4 separate regions of the Homo sapiens genome follow, and all the other regions are linked to region 2. The links are contacts of gene promoters, found by promoter capture Hi-C in blood cells and fetal thymus (Javierre and others, 2016). All regions are on one chromosome and are shown on one strand. The core of a region is centred on a gene start or on the middle of the fragment in contact, and the rest is flanking DNA. Distances in the headings are between cores, read along the strand shown.

Evidence for each region. Contacts are between HindIII fragments. The CHiCAGO score rates a contact against its expected background, and 5 or more counts as called.
Region 1: a contact is called between a fragment that was not itself captured here and the fragment with the promoter of HOXC6 in region 2, in 1 of 17 cell types (M1 macrophages). The highest score is 5.2, in M1 macrophages.
Region 3: a contact is called between a fragment that was not itself captured here and the fragment with the promoter of HOXC6 in region 2, in 1 of 17 cell types (total B cells). The highest score is 5.0, in total B cells.
Region 4: a contact is called between the fragment with the promoter of NFE2 here and the fragment with the promoter of HOXC6 in region 2, in 2 of 17 cell types (activated CD4 T cells and naive CD8 T cells). The highest score is 8.2, in activated CD4 T cells.

Annotation. Positions count from the first base shown.
Region 1 is chr12:53,755,636-53,758,335 of GRCh38, forward strand. The region is part of intron 1 of LOC105378250 (a long non-coding RNA gene); the gene reads left to right. It also overlaps a transcript of CISTR not described here. Among named protein-coding and RNA genes, the nearest start is that of CISTR, 5.0 kb to the left of the region's middle. RefSeq lists an enhancer at 1,759-1,808. The HindIII fragment of the contact is 201 bases long and covers 1,264-1,464 here.
Region 2 is chr12:54,027,108-54,029,807 of GRCh38, forward strand. It overlaps HOXC6 (homeobox C6), which reads left to right and starts at 1,333. Exons shown (of 2, transcript NM_004503.4): 1 at 1,333-1,814; 2 at 2,548-2,700. The coding sequence starts at 1,415. It also overlaps a transcript of HOXC4 not described here and a transcript of HOXC5 not described here. The HindIII fragment of the contact is 15,214 bases long and covers 1-2,700 here.
Region 3 is chr12:54,391,322-54,394,021 of GRCh38, forward strand. All of the region lies in intron 1 of GPR84-AS1 (GPR84, ZNF385A, ITGA5 and GTSF1 antisense RNA 1), which reads left to right. Among named protein-coding and RNA genes, the nearest start is that of ZNF385A, 7.9 kb to the left of the region's middle. RefSeq lists a silencer at 1-186. The HindIII fragment of the contact is 1,408 bases long and covers 639-2,046 here.
Region 4 is chr12:54,299,737-54,302,436 of GRCh38, forward strand. NFE2 (nuclear factor, erythroid 2) reads right to left here and starts at 1,279. Exons shown (of 3, transcript NM_001136023.3): 1 at 1,065-1,279. RefSeq lists a cis regulatory region at 1,051-2,025 and an enhancer at 1,426-2,166. The HindIII fragment of the contact is 10,882 bases long and covers 1-2,700 here.

The DNA of each region.
Region 1 (2,700 bases), core at 114-2,613, 270 kb before region 2:
CTTAAGTGTCCACAGGGGTGGGATGGACCTGGTGGGTTTTGCTCCCTGGTCCTCTCTGCAGGGCGTCTCTGGAGGGTCCCCTCTCTACGCTCTTTGCCCATCCCAGCCTTTGGCTGCACACCATTTCTCCTGGCCTCAGGTGGCGCTATAAATCACCTCTCCCAGAAAGGAGGCTACCACCTACCTATCCAGTCCATGTCTCACCAGCTGTCTTCATCTTGCCCAAGATCCTCTGGTTCTTTCTTCTCTGCAAATCCCATATGCTTTCCCCAGCACCAGTTTTTTGGATAACCTGATTAGCTGTTTTGGAGAGAGGGGCTCTTTTTGCAGGGACCCCTTTCTCCTCCTAAGTGTCTTACTAATTACAAACAGAGAAAGCCTGGTCTGTGAAGTTAGCCTGCCCCCAGCTCCCTGGCTTGGTGGAGGGAACCAGGAGCTAGGGGATTTAAAGCGCAATTTCCTGTGGCCTTTTCATTTCCTGCTGGGGGTTGTGGAGAGCAATAAGCAAGGTGGGTGGCAAGGGCCAGAAGGACCGGCCAGGTGGGGGATGGGCTGGGGGAGCCTTCCCTCCATGTACTCTTCTACCATCCCCTTTTCTGGCTCTCGAGGTAAGTTCTTTGGGGATGAAGCACCTGATAAATGAGGACCTGGAACTCCTTACAATCTCCCTCTTACCTCCCCAAAGTAAGAGAACGGAGTAGAGAGGAGTGGGAAAAGATCTGATTATTGTAATAATAGATGATACCACAGGAAGGAACCTTGGAAATCAGTTGGATCCCTTGAGGTTTTATTTTATTTTAAATAGAGATGGGGGTCTTGCTATGTTGCTCAGGCTAGGCCTTGAAATCCTGGGCTCAGGCGATCCTCCTGCCTCAGCCTTCCAAAGTGCTGGGATCACAGACGTGAGCCACTGCACTTGGCCTCTTTCAGGTTTCAGATGAGGAAATGGAGGCCTTGGAGAGGGCAGGTAACCTGCTCAAGGTTATGTATGTAAGTGGTGAGCTGGTGTGGCTGGGATTTAGCTAACTCTCATGATTCACTGTTTAGTGCTCTTTCCTCAGTCAGAGTCAGAGTGGGCTGTGGGTCAGTGATGTGTGTGTGTGTGTGTGTGTGTGTACTGGGGAGGGGGGATGAGATGGGAGGAAGTGGGGTAGGGAGCAGGGGATCTGGGGAGGTACCTGGATAGCAGGGGACTCCGGGTCCTGAAATGTTCACTCTTTGGTAGGTCCTGTGGAAGAGCGCAGGCAAGTCCTGACTTAGGGAAGCTTTTGTGAGCTGGCTCAGGAAACAGATGTGTGGATAAAAAGGAGGGGAGAGGGAGGAACTGTGGCCCTTGGAAACTATTAGCCCAACATCTCTTCTTCCCCTCTCCACAGTCAGAGGTGGATGAGGTGGGGGAGGGGCATGGCAGAGGACAAAGGAGCCAATTATTGAGTGAGTGGATTAATTGATTAATTGTCCAGAAGCTTCCAGTGCTCCCCAACAATGACATCCCCTCCCCCGACCCCAGTCAGGCATGGCCTCGGTTGGCCTGGATTATTAATTAGGGCTTGAAGTCATTTAACGATGATTTCATTATCGACGTGCTGTCTGTCTCGGGCTCAGCCCGGTTGCCAGGGCGACTCTGATCGATTGCCTTCCGGTCTTCTTGGCTTGGCCGGCTGCTTCCTTTCTGGAGCCTGGCTGTTGGCGAGCACTCCCTAGCGGCCCTCTCTGGTACTGCAGAGCTTCCCGGTTGCAGGCTTGAGAGACTCAGGCGAGGAACAGAGAGCTACAGCTGCCTTGGGGGTCTTTTCAGCTACTGACTGACCTAGCTGTTGCCTGGGAACCGGCTTTTCTCCTTTTCTCCTAGGTTGTGAAGTCCTTCTGATTCTGTCCCCTGGCCTTCTACCCATACCCCTTTGGGATGGGTGTAGGAATAGGTAGGGACCTCAGTTGTTTCCTCGCAGCCTTTCAATTTACCTCTGGGAGGCCCAGATAAGCTGTGATAAAGTTATTCCTGCTGCTAAGGAGACTCCTTAGGCTCTGTCTATCCTGGGACATCTGGCCTCTTGGACCTTGCATGAGGCTGGCAGGGAAGGAGTGGATGTGGGGATAATTTCCCCTTAGATTGCCTGAGTTAATGTTCTTAGGGTCTTCCCCGGCCGTGAGAGGAGCTGGGGGAGCTGGTCTTTGCAGAGCTCAGCTACTTCCTCAGCCTCAAGAAAGCCTGGGGAAAAAAGGCAGGGTCCAGGTTGTCATGCTAAGTCTTAGGTCTTCAGAAACTTGGCTGGTTACTCTATCTGTGGTCCCTGAAAACCTAGATTCATGCACATTCAGTGGTCTCAGGATCTCTACTCTATGCCTCAGTTTCTCCTTTCATGGGTTTCATGTATATATTTGTGGGGTCTGTTAGTAGAGAGTTGCTTGAAGGCATCGGTCATGGCTTCTCAGTAGGTGTCTAAATTGTTGACCCCAAAGTAATTGGGCGTCACTGGTGTCTTATCTCCCTTATCCTTTGCATGCTGCTAATTTTATTCTCAAATGCAGATCTCTCCTCAGTCCTTACCTCTCTTTACTCCTCTCCCCTTGACCCCTGACCAAAGACTGTCCCCAGCACCCTCCCCAGAACATGCCTCCCTTGCCTGCCTTCCTCTATTTCTCCTCCTCCTCTGCCCCACTTCCCCTTCTACTGGTTGTGCCAGGCTGCGTTAGCTCTGA
Region 2 (2,700 bases), core at 83-2,582:
CGCTGTTTCAGTTCGCCTACTGCGGCTCCCTCACAAGCCTCGGATTCAGCTGCCTTTTCGTAACCGTCTCTTCCCTTTTTTTAGCCCCAAGATGGGGGAATAAAATGGGCGTTGAGGTTGCTGAGAGGCCCATCCCCACCACGGGTGACTGGCACTTGGGTGAGAGCTCCTTAGAACCCCTTTCTGAAGTCTCCAAGCCTCATAGCTCAGGTCCAGGGGCGCCTCCACTGGCGGTGCCCTGAGTCTGGAGGGGGCAGGGGGGCTTCTGACCAAGGCAGGGGCTTGAGCCTGCAGGAAGCTAACTGTCCATCAGAGCCCCACCAGCCTTCTCTTTCTGGCTGGATCCTATGTGAATTACCCCACAGGCCCTCACTGGCTCCAAATAATAAATTCTCACCAACATAAACAGGAGTTGATGTCTCTAGAAAGATTCTCAGAGTTTTCGTTCTTCCTCTCTCTCTCTTTCTCTCTGTCTTTCCCCCTCCGGTGCCACCTCCCTACATTTTACTTCTTTTTCTCCTTTTTCTATTGCATTTTTTATACATTTTCCCTTTTAGGCAAAAATGCTGGAAGAGTTTTCCCAACAGAGGGGTCCTGAGAAGGAGGCAGAAGGGAGCCAGGAGGCAAAGGAGAGCAGATGCGTGGCCCATTTGCCCACTCCAGCTCTGCCACTGTACCCTGAAGTCTTGCCCCTTTAGACCTAGTTGTTCCCCACATCCCTACTACATTCAAGACTCTCAGCCACACTCTACTTACTCAGGGGAACAGGTTTTATGAAATTTCTTTCTACTTTTGATTTTTTTTTAATTATTGGTGAAAAAAATACTAGTTTAGTGATGGGACTCACTCCATGGAGTGTCAAAACAGGATTTCCTGCAGGATTTCTAGGGACCCCCCTCCTGTGCTGGGAGGGAGTTCTTCCCTTGGAGAAATCAGGATGTAATTTTAGAAGGGGGCAGATATAAAACATGAAACCAGATTGAAAATACAGGGGTTTCTCTAGCCCTGGCTCTGGCCACAGCACAGCAAAGTTAGCTGGGGCTGAGAGATTTCCTGGTAGTACAGCTCTCCTTCCCTGAGTCCCAAGGCCCTGCTCAGGGACATGCACCCCTCCTTCACCACCAAACCAGTTCCCTTACATATATATATATATATATATATTTTTTAAAAGAAATCCAAGTCTTACTTTCAAAGCACACACTTAGTCTCAACTAGGGAATCAACAGAAGCAGAAGCGATTTTTTTCCCCCTTCCTGACATCTGGCTTGCGATTGGCTGGGAGGGGGTCAGCTGACTTTGTCATTTTGTCTGTCCTGGATTGGAGCCGTCCCTATAACCATCTAGTTCCGAGTACAAACTGGAGACAGAAATAAATATTAAAGAAATCATAGACCGACCAGGTAAAGGCAAAGGGATGAATTCCTACTTCACTAACCCTTCCTTATCCTGCCACCTCGCCGGGGGCCAGGACGTCCTCCCCAACGTCGCCCTCAATTCCACCGCCTATGATCCAGTGAGGCATTTCTCGACCTATGGAGCGGCCGTTGCCCAGAACCGGATCTACTCGACTCCCTTTTATTCGCCACAGGAGAATGTCGTGTTCAGTTCCAGCCGGGGGCCGTATGACTATGGATCTAATTCCTTTTACCAGGAGAAAGACATGCTCTCAAACTGCAGACAAAACACCTTAGGACATAACACACAGACCTCAATCGCTCAGGATTTTAGTTCTGAGCAGGGCAGGACTGCGCCCCAGGACCAGAAAGCCAGTATCCAGATTTACCCCTGGATGCAGCGAATGAATTCGCACAGTGGTGAGTTTTACAGCTCCGAGATATAAATTAAATAAACTGAACTGGCTTTATGACCGGCTTCCCTAGAAGAACGGGCGGAGAGAGTTTTTTATGGCCCCATAAAAACAATCACGCTCGTCTCCTCACCGAGACAGGGCCCCCTCTTCTGCCCCCTCAGCTCGCCTCTCGCTCGCTTGCAGGGGCCTGGCCCCCTTGGCCCCTGACGGATTGGAGGGCCCCAAGGCGGGCTGAGGGGGCAGGAACAGGGCAGGGGATGAGGGGAGGGAGCAGAAGATAGGGGAGCCCCCCAAAGTGGAGTCAGTCTGAGGAGAAGGGAGGGGGAGAGGAGAGGCAGATAAGTGGGGAGAAGTTTCCAAGGAACTAGGATGCTTGGGGAGATGGGGGAGCCCAGTCCTTGAGAAAGGGGGCCCTCATCCCCATTATCTGGGATTTTTCAAAAATCTGCTTTTAGACTTGCAGCTTTCTGTTTGCCTTTTGCCCCGCCCCCCCGCCCCCCCCCCCACCACACACCTTTCTTTGGGACACACAGGTCCCACCTTATAGGAGGTCTGAAGTTGGGGTCCTCGCTGTACCCCCAGTGGGGGTGGGGCAAGGCAAAAGGGAGAAGGCTAGAGCCCTAAGGAGGCTGTGAGCTGCTGGCCAGGTTGGGAGGGTCAGGACTTTGCTAGGCGAAACAGTCTGCAGAGGACGCTTTGCTGATTGCTTTTAGTGTGTTTTGTGCCCGGATCTTTAGGGGTCGGCTACGGAGCGGACCGGAGGCGCGGCCGCCAGATCTACTCGCGGTACCAGACCCTGGAACTGGAGAAGGAATTTCACTTCAATCGCTACCTAACGCGGCGCCGGCGCATCGAGATCGCCAACGCGCTTTGCCTGACCGAGCGACAGA
Region 3 (2,700 bases), core at 93-2,592, 360 kb after region 2:
AGGAGCCGGGGAGGAGCAGAGGCCGGCCGAGGCGGAGCGGGGGCGGGGCCCTCAGCAGGTGAAGACGGGAGGAGGGGACCCGGGCACTCAGGGCTCCGCGAGGGGGCGTCCTGGCCCCTCCCGCTTCCTCCCGCCCTTCTTCTTGCTGCCTGCTGGCCTCCTGGGTTTACGGTGTCACTGCGGCCAGGGCTGGGGGAACAGGACGTCTAGAAGACGGTGTGAGGTGATGGACGAAGCTGGAAACTAGGATGCCTGGGTTCCCGGGAAGGGCTGAGTCTGAGGGCGGGAAGTCTGGTGCTGGGCTGATATGGGGTGGGCAGGGGAGTGGGGGGGGGAGGGGGGCGGGGGTGCCTAAGTACTCTGGGAGGCGATGGGCCTTGGGTTGGGTAGGATACCTAGGTTCCCTCCAGAGTAATGGACTGAGCAGGGGGCAGGGGAAGTGCAGCAGAAATTGTATGGGTCCTAGTTTGTTGTTCTGGCTTTGGAGCAGGATGCCTGGGGGCTGGGCCTCTGAGGTGAAATGGGATGTTGAAGATGGATCCCAGGTTGAGTTCTGGCTGGGGTCTGAATGCCTGGGTCCTTAGGGAAGGTCTCAGCGAGGAGATTGCAATCAATGGACCTGAGGAGATGGAAATAGAAGCTTGTAACCGAGATCATTAGGGCAACTGGAAGATGACAGAAAATTCAGAACTGAGGCACCTTGTAGAGATGACCTGGATTAGGGTGGGGTGGCATCAGGGAGCATCTATCCAGGGCTAAATCAGCGGCATTCCCCACTAAGGCGAGCTTCGGTCGAGGAGGACTGGTGGGGGGGCATTTCGTGAGGTGGAGGGGAAGATGGAGGGTAGGACAAAATGTATGAGCAGGGGAGAATGTCAGGAGGGAGAGGAAGTACAGGCCACTTGGAGGTATTCTTTTCTTCTTTTTTCTTTTTTCTTCTTTTTTGAGACCCAAGTCTTGCTCTGTCGCCAGGCTGGAGTGCAGTGGCACGATCTCAGCTCACTGCAACCTCTGCCTCCCGGGTTCAAGCATTCTCCTGCCTCAGCCTCCCGAGTAGCTGGGATTACAGGTGCCCGCCACCACGCCTGGCTAATTTTTGTAGTTTTAGTAGAGACAGGATTTCACTATGTTGGCCAGGCTGGTCTCGAACGCCTGACCTCAGGTGATCCGCCTGCCTCGCTCTCTCAAAGTGCTGGGATTACTGGCGTAAGCCACCGCACGCAGCCCACTCAGAGGTATTCTTAAGGGACCCCAGTACAAGGTAGGAGTCTTGGAGAATGCAGATGTCTGGGGGAGATGGAGGCTGGATCTGTCTGTACTTGTCTCAAGAGGGAGGGTGGCAGCCAGATTTCCCAGAATGCCACACAGCCAGCTTCAGGCCAACCCCAATCAGAGGAAAAGTGGGTGGGAACTGGAACGTTTGAGGTTTAGGGAGGTAGAAGCTGAGGGGAAGAAGTTGGTGAAAGGGTGGTGGGACTGAAGTTTCGGAATGGTTTAGGAAGGGGAAAGAGACTGACATTCCTGGGTTCTGGAGGGAAATTGGGACTGGATGGTCAATTAAGGTGCAGGAAGTTTGAGTTTCTGTTTCTGGGTCCCAGCAATCTCTTGCCCTCACGCCAGTAATCTGGTTTGAAGAAAAGACCTGTTTCTGTACCTGCCAAGACACTCCAGCTCAAGGGAGAGAATGCTGGGAGTGCCAATGCCTTAGTCTCATTCTGATTCAGTGGGGCAGAGATCTCAGGGGATTGGCCTTGGGAGAGGATATGGGGTTTCTGGGTCCATCAGAGGAGGTCCTCCTGCTCTGGGTCTGACCTACCACCATGCTGGTCAACTCCAGTATGAAAAACCCTTGCTTCTCCTTAGACCCTGCACCTCCTTTCCTCTTCCCATTCTTTCTCCTCCTGGGTGGACTCAGAGACTAAACAAGAGCCATCATCAGGCATGGTCGATTGGTTTTAGAGACCCCTTTGCGCTCAGCTGTTGTCCACCCTGCCACACTGCCCCAGGGACTCTGGGTTAGGAAGATCTCAGAAGAGGGGTTGCTTAAGCTTACCAAGGGGAAGCAGCTGGCTAGAGGACGGGGTGACCTTGCAGGCAGCTGGGGTGGGGGGAAGGTGTGTGGGGTGAATTCATTATTGATGAGCCCTGCACCCCGGGCTACTAATGAGCCCAGGCCGGCTGCTCTAATTGATGTCAAGAAACTTGAGACCCCCAGATCAGCTTCCCGCCTGCCAGCTGCCTCTCCTGAGCCCCCTCCCCCTCCCTGCACCCCCAGCTGCTCTGTTCACTTCCTAAGGCCTCCTTTCCTTCTCCTTTTCATCTCCACCAACACAGACAAGGATAGGGCTCAGGCCTTCTAGCCCCCCTACACTTAAATTCGTCTGGATTATTCAAGTCTCAAGGTGGGAGCCACACTTCCTTCGGAGGGTTGGGAGATTTGGGAGAAGAAACTTAGACCAGGAGTCTGAGAATTAGAGCTCAGGGAAAGAGAGGCTCATACTAGATTACATCTGTGGCATTTCTGAGCTCAAGGAATTTCTTCCTTATATTGTGCATCCACGGGTAAGAACTTGTCACTCTCTCAAAAGTACAGGCCCTACACAGTGACACACCCATGACACCAGCCCAATTTTCACAGCCCACTTCCCTTCCTTATTTCCTCCTCACAACAGTGGAAGACATTTTAGGTCTGGCCCCTGG
Region 4 (2,700 bases), core at 29-2,528, 270 kb after region 2:
TAACGAGGGGGAACGATGAGAGGGGGCTTGCCTCAGGATCCCTTTTCTGAGGCTTATTTGACCACCTCACCTCTCCAGGTGTCAATAGGTGCAGTGAAAGGATGAGGAGGGATTAGTAAAACTTGGGGTATTGGTTAACCGGTAAGCAACCTATTTAGAAAGATTAGGGAGAACTCCCGAAGAGAGAGAGACACACAGAGATGAGACAGAATGAAGGGGAAAAAAAGGAGGGAGAGAGATTTAAGCATAGTGAGCTCAGTGCCCTAGGGACATGCATGACTCAAACAAATGTGTGAGAACAAAGAAGAGGGGGACGAGTTTCTGCTATTGTGTCACTTCATCCCTGGACCCCAAACTCCAGTCCTTTGGTACCGATGTCTAGGGGATCCCAGCCCCAGCAGTTCTGATACCTCCTCTCTTCTCTTCCACTGCTTCCCAAGCCCCTATTTCCCAAGCAGCCAAGAGTTCCAGTTAGAAGCAACTATGCTGGGGTTGGGATGTCTTCCTTCTCCCTCCAGGTCCAGCTGATCTCTACTGCCCCTGGGCACAGAGAAGAGAAAGGGCAAAGGAGCCAACAACCCAGAGGCAATCTCCCATCCAACCCCCGCACCTTGCAACACTTCTCAGAGGTTCAGATATCCAGTGTTTCCAATTCCTCAGCTTTCCCTAAACCTTCTCAGCTGCCTAGACAGGGCAGAGTAATGGAATGGAGTTGGGGAAAGGGTAGTCTATTGGTTCCCTCAGGGTAGCCCACCAGTTGAAGGATTCCTCCTGGCTACTCCCCAGCCCCTCAGCGGTGCCTTGCCTCTGGAGACCCCTCTCTGATCCCCATTCACAGCCTCCACCCCAAGGATCCCAGAGCACCCAAGAAACCACTTAGGTCTTCTCCTAGAGGAGTTCCCAAATATGTCAGATTCCTAAACCAGGGGCAATCTAGAAAGTCTGAGGTCTCCTAGGATACCGAAAGTTGGTTATTTTCCCCCCTCACCTCCTTCACCCCCCAGCCTGCCCCTCGGATCTCACTGGAATCCGCCCCCCCCACACACACCCTGCCTTTCAGGCACCTGTGGTGGAGTCACAGCAGGGTGAGGAGAGAGATGAGGCTCCCGGTGTTGTCTCTGGGGAGGCTGAGCCTGAGCTGACACTGCTGGACGAGGATCCCGGCTACCTTTGAGAATCTGCGAGGACCGCGCCCCGCCCCCGGGCCATTGCTGAGCGCTGAGTGTGGAAGCTCAGGCTGAGCTGAGCACAGGAGCCCCAAGCAGGCGCACCAGCGTCTGAAGCCCTCGGCCTGAGTTCTCAGTCCTTCCTCCAACCCTCCCCTTTCCCCGTGGCTCTCCTCTCCTCCTGCCCCTTTCGGCCAAGAGAGGAAACTTGAGCCCGATGTGGTTTCTGCCCACACCCCGCCCCCACCTTGCTCCTGGCCAGCGGGGGCACACATGGCTCCAAGCCTCTCCCAGCCCTCCTTTTCAGCCCAGGAGTCCAGCCAGGTCTGCGTTTCTCCCATGCATTTGACGAATTCCAACCTGATGGTCCACTCGAATGTGACCTTTAAACTTTATACAGGTTGTCGTCGCCTTGTGTCCCCACGGCTCTCCTAGGGACAGGGAAACTGAGTCATATCAAGGTGGAAGGCAGCTGAAGGTAAGGACCAGGTGTCTAGCTTCCCAGCTGTCTAGGCAGTTGGACGTTTAGGGTATAGCCTTCATTTACAGAAAACCTGGGCTCTGGGAACAAGGGCAGGGGAACTATTTGGAGGAGGAGGGGCAACTGACTGCTTTGATGTGTCCTTTCACCTGTAGCCTTCTCCCCTCCCCCCTCAGCCTCAGAAGTCCCAGGACAAAGGATTCTTTCTTGGCCAGGTTTTTGTCAGTGTGTGAAGGGAGTTAGGTGGGGGGCCACCCAGCAGGGAGATTATTCACCTCCCGTAAAGGGGACCCCAGGTGTCCTTTGTCCTCCTTTCTCCCAGGCAAAGCACCCCAGCCACATGGCACCCAACTCTGTTAGGCCAGTAAGTACCCTTATTCATCTTTTTTTTTTTTTTTTTCCAGAGAGGGGCTCACTCTGTCTCCCAGGCTGGAGTGCAGTGGTGTGAACATGTTTCACTACAGTCTCAAACTCCCAGGCTTAAGCAATCCTCCCACCTCAGCCTCCCAAGTAGCTGGTTCTATGGGTCAGTGCAACCATGCCCAGCTAATTTTTTTTTTTTTTTTTTTTTTTGGTAGAAGTGGTGTCTCACTATATTGCCTTGGCTGGTATTGAATTCTTGGGCTCAAGCAATCCTCCCCTCTTGGCCTCCCAAAGTGCTGGGATTACAGGCATGAGCCACCTCACCCAGCCCACTTATTCATCTTTTTGCCTGCAAGCTACACCACCAAAGCCCCAGGTCAAACATCTTTCTCCACAGACTGTGAGAAAAGAGCCTTTCTTCCTCCTAATTTGTAATGGCTTTCAGCTCTATATGTCTAGCTTCAATCCTGACATCTGCAGCTTACATTTTTTCTTCTTACAATGTTCAAGTTAAATTAGAAACATCTGAAGACTGGGGAAGCAGATAGGTGCCACTCTGGAGTAGGACTGGCATTCAACCAGCATGCTCTGATGGGATTGTATTTGCTGTTAAAATAATGAAAATGTTCAGTCCTAGTTGATAAAAGGCAGCTGCTGTGAGCCCTCTAAGTGTCCCCCACGACTCCACCA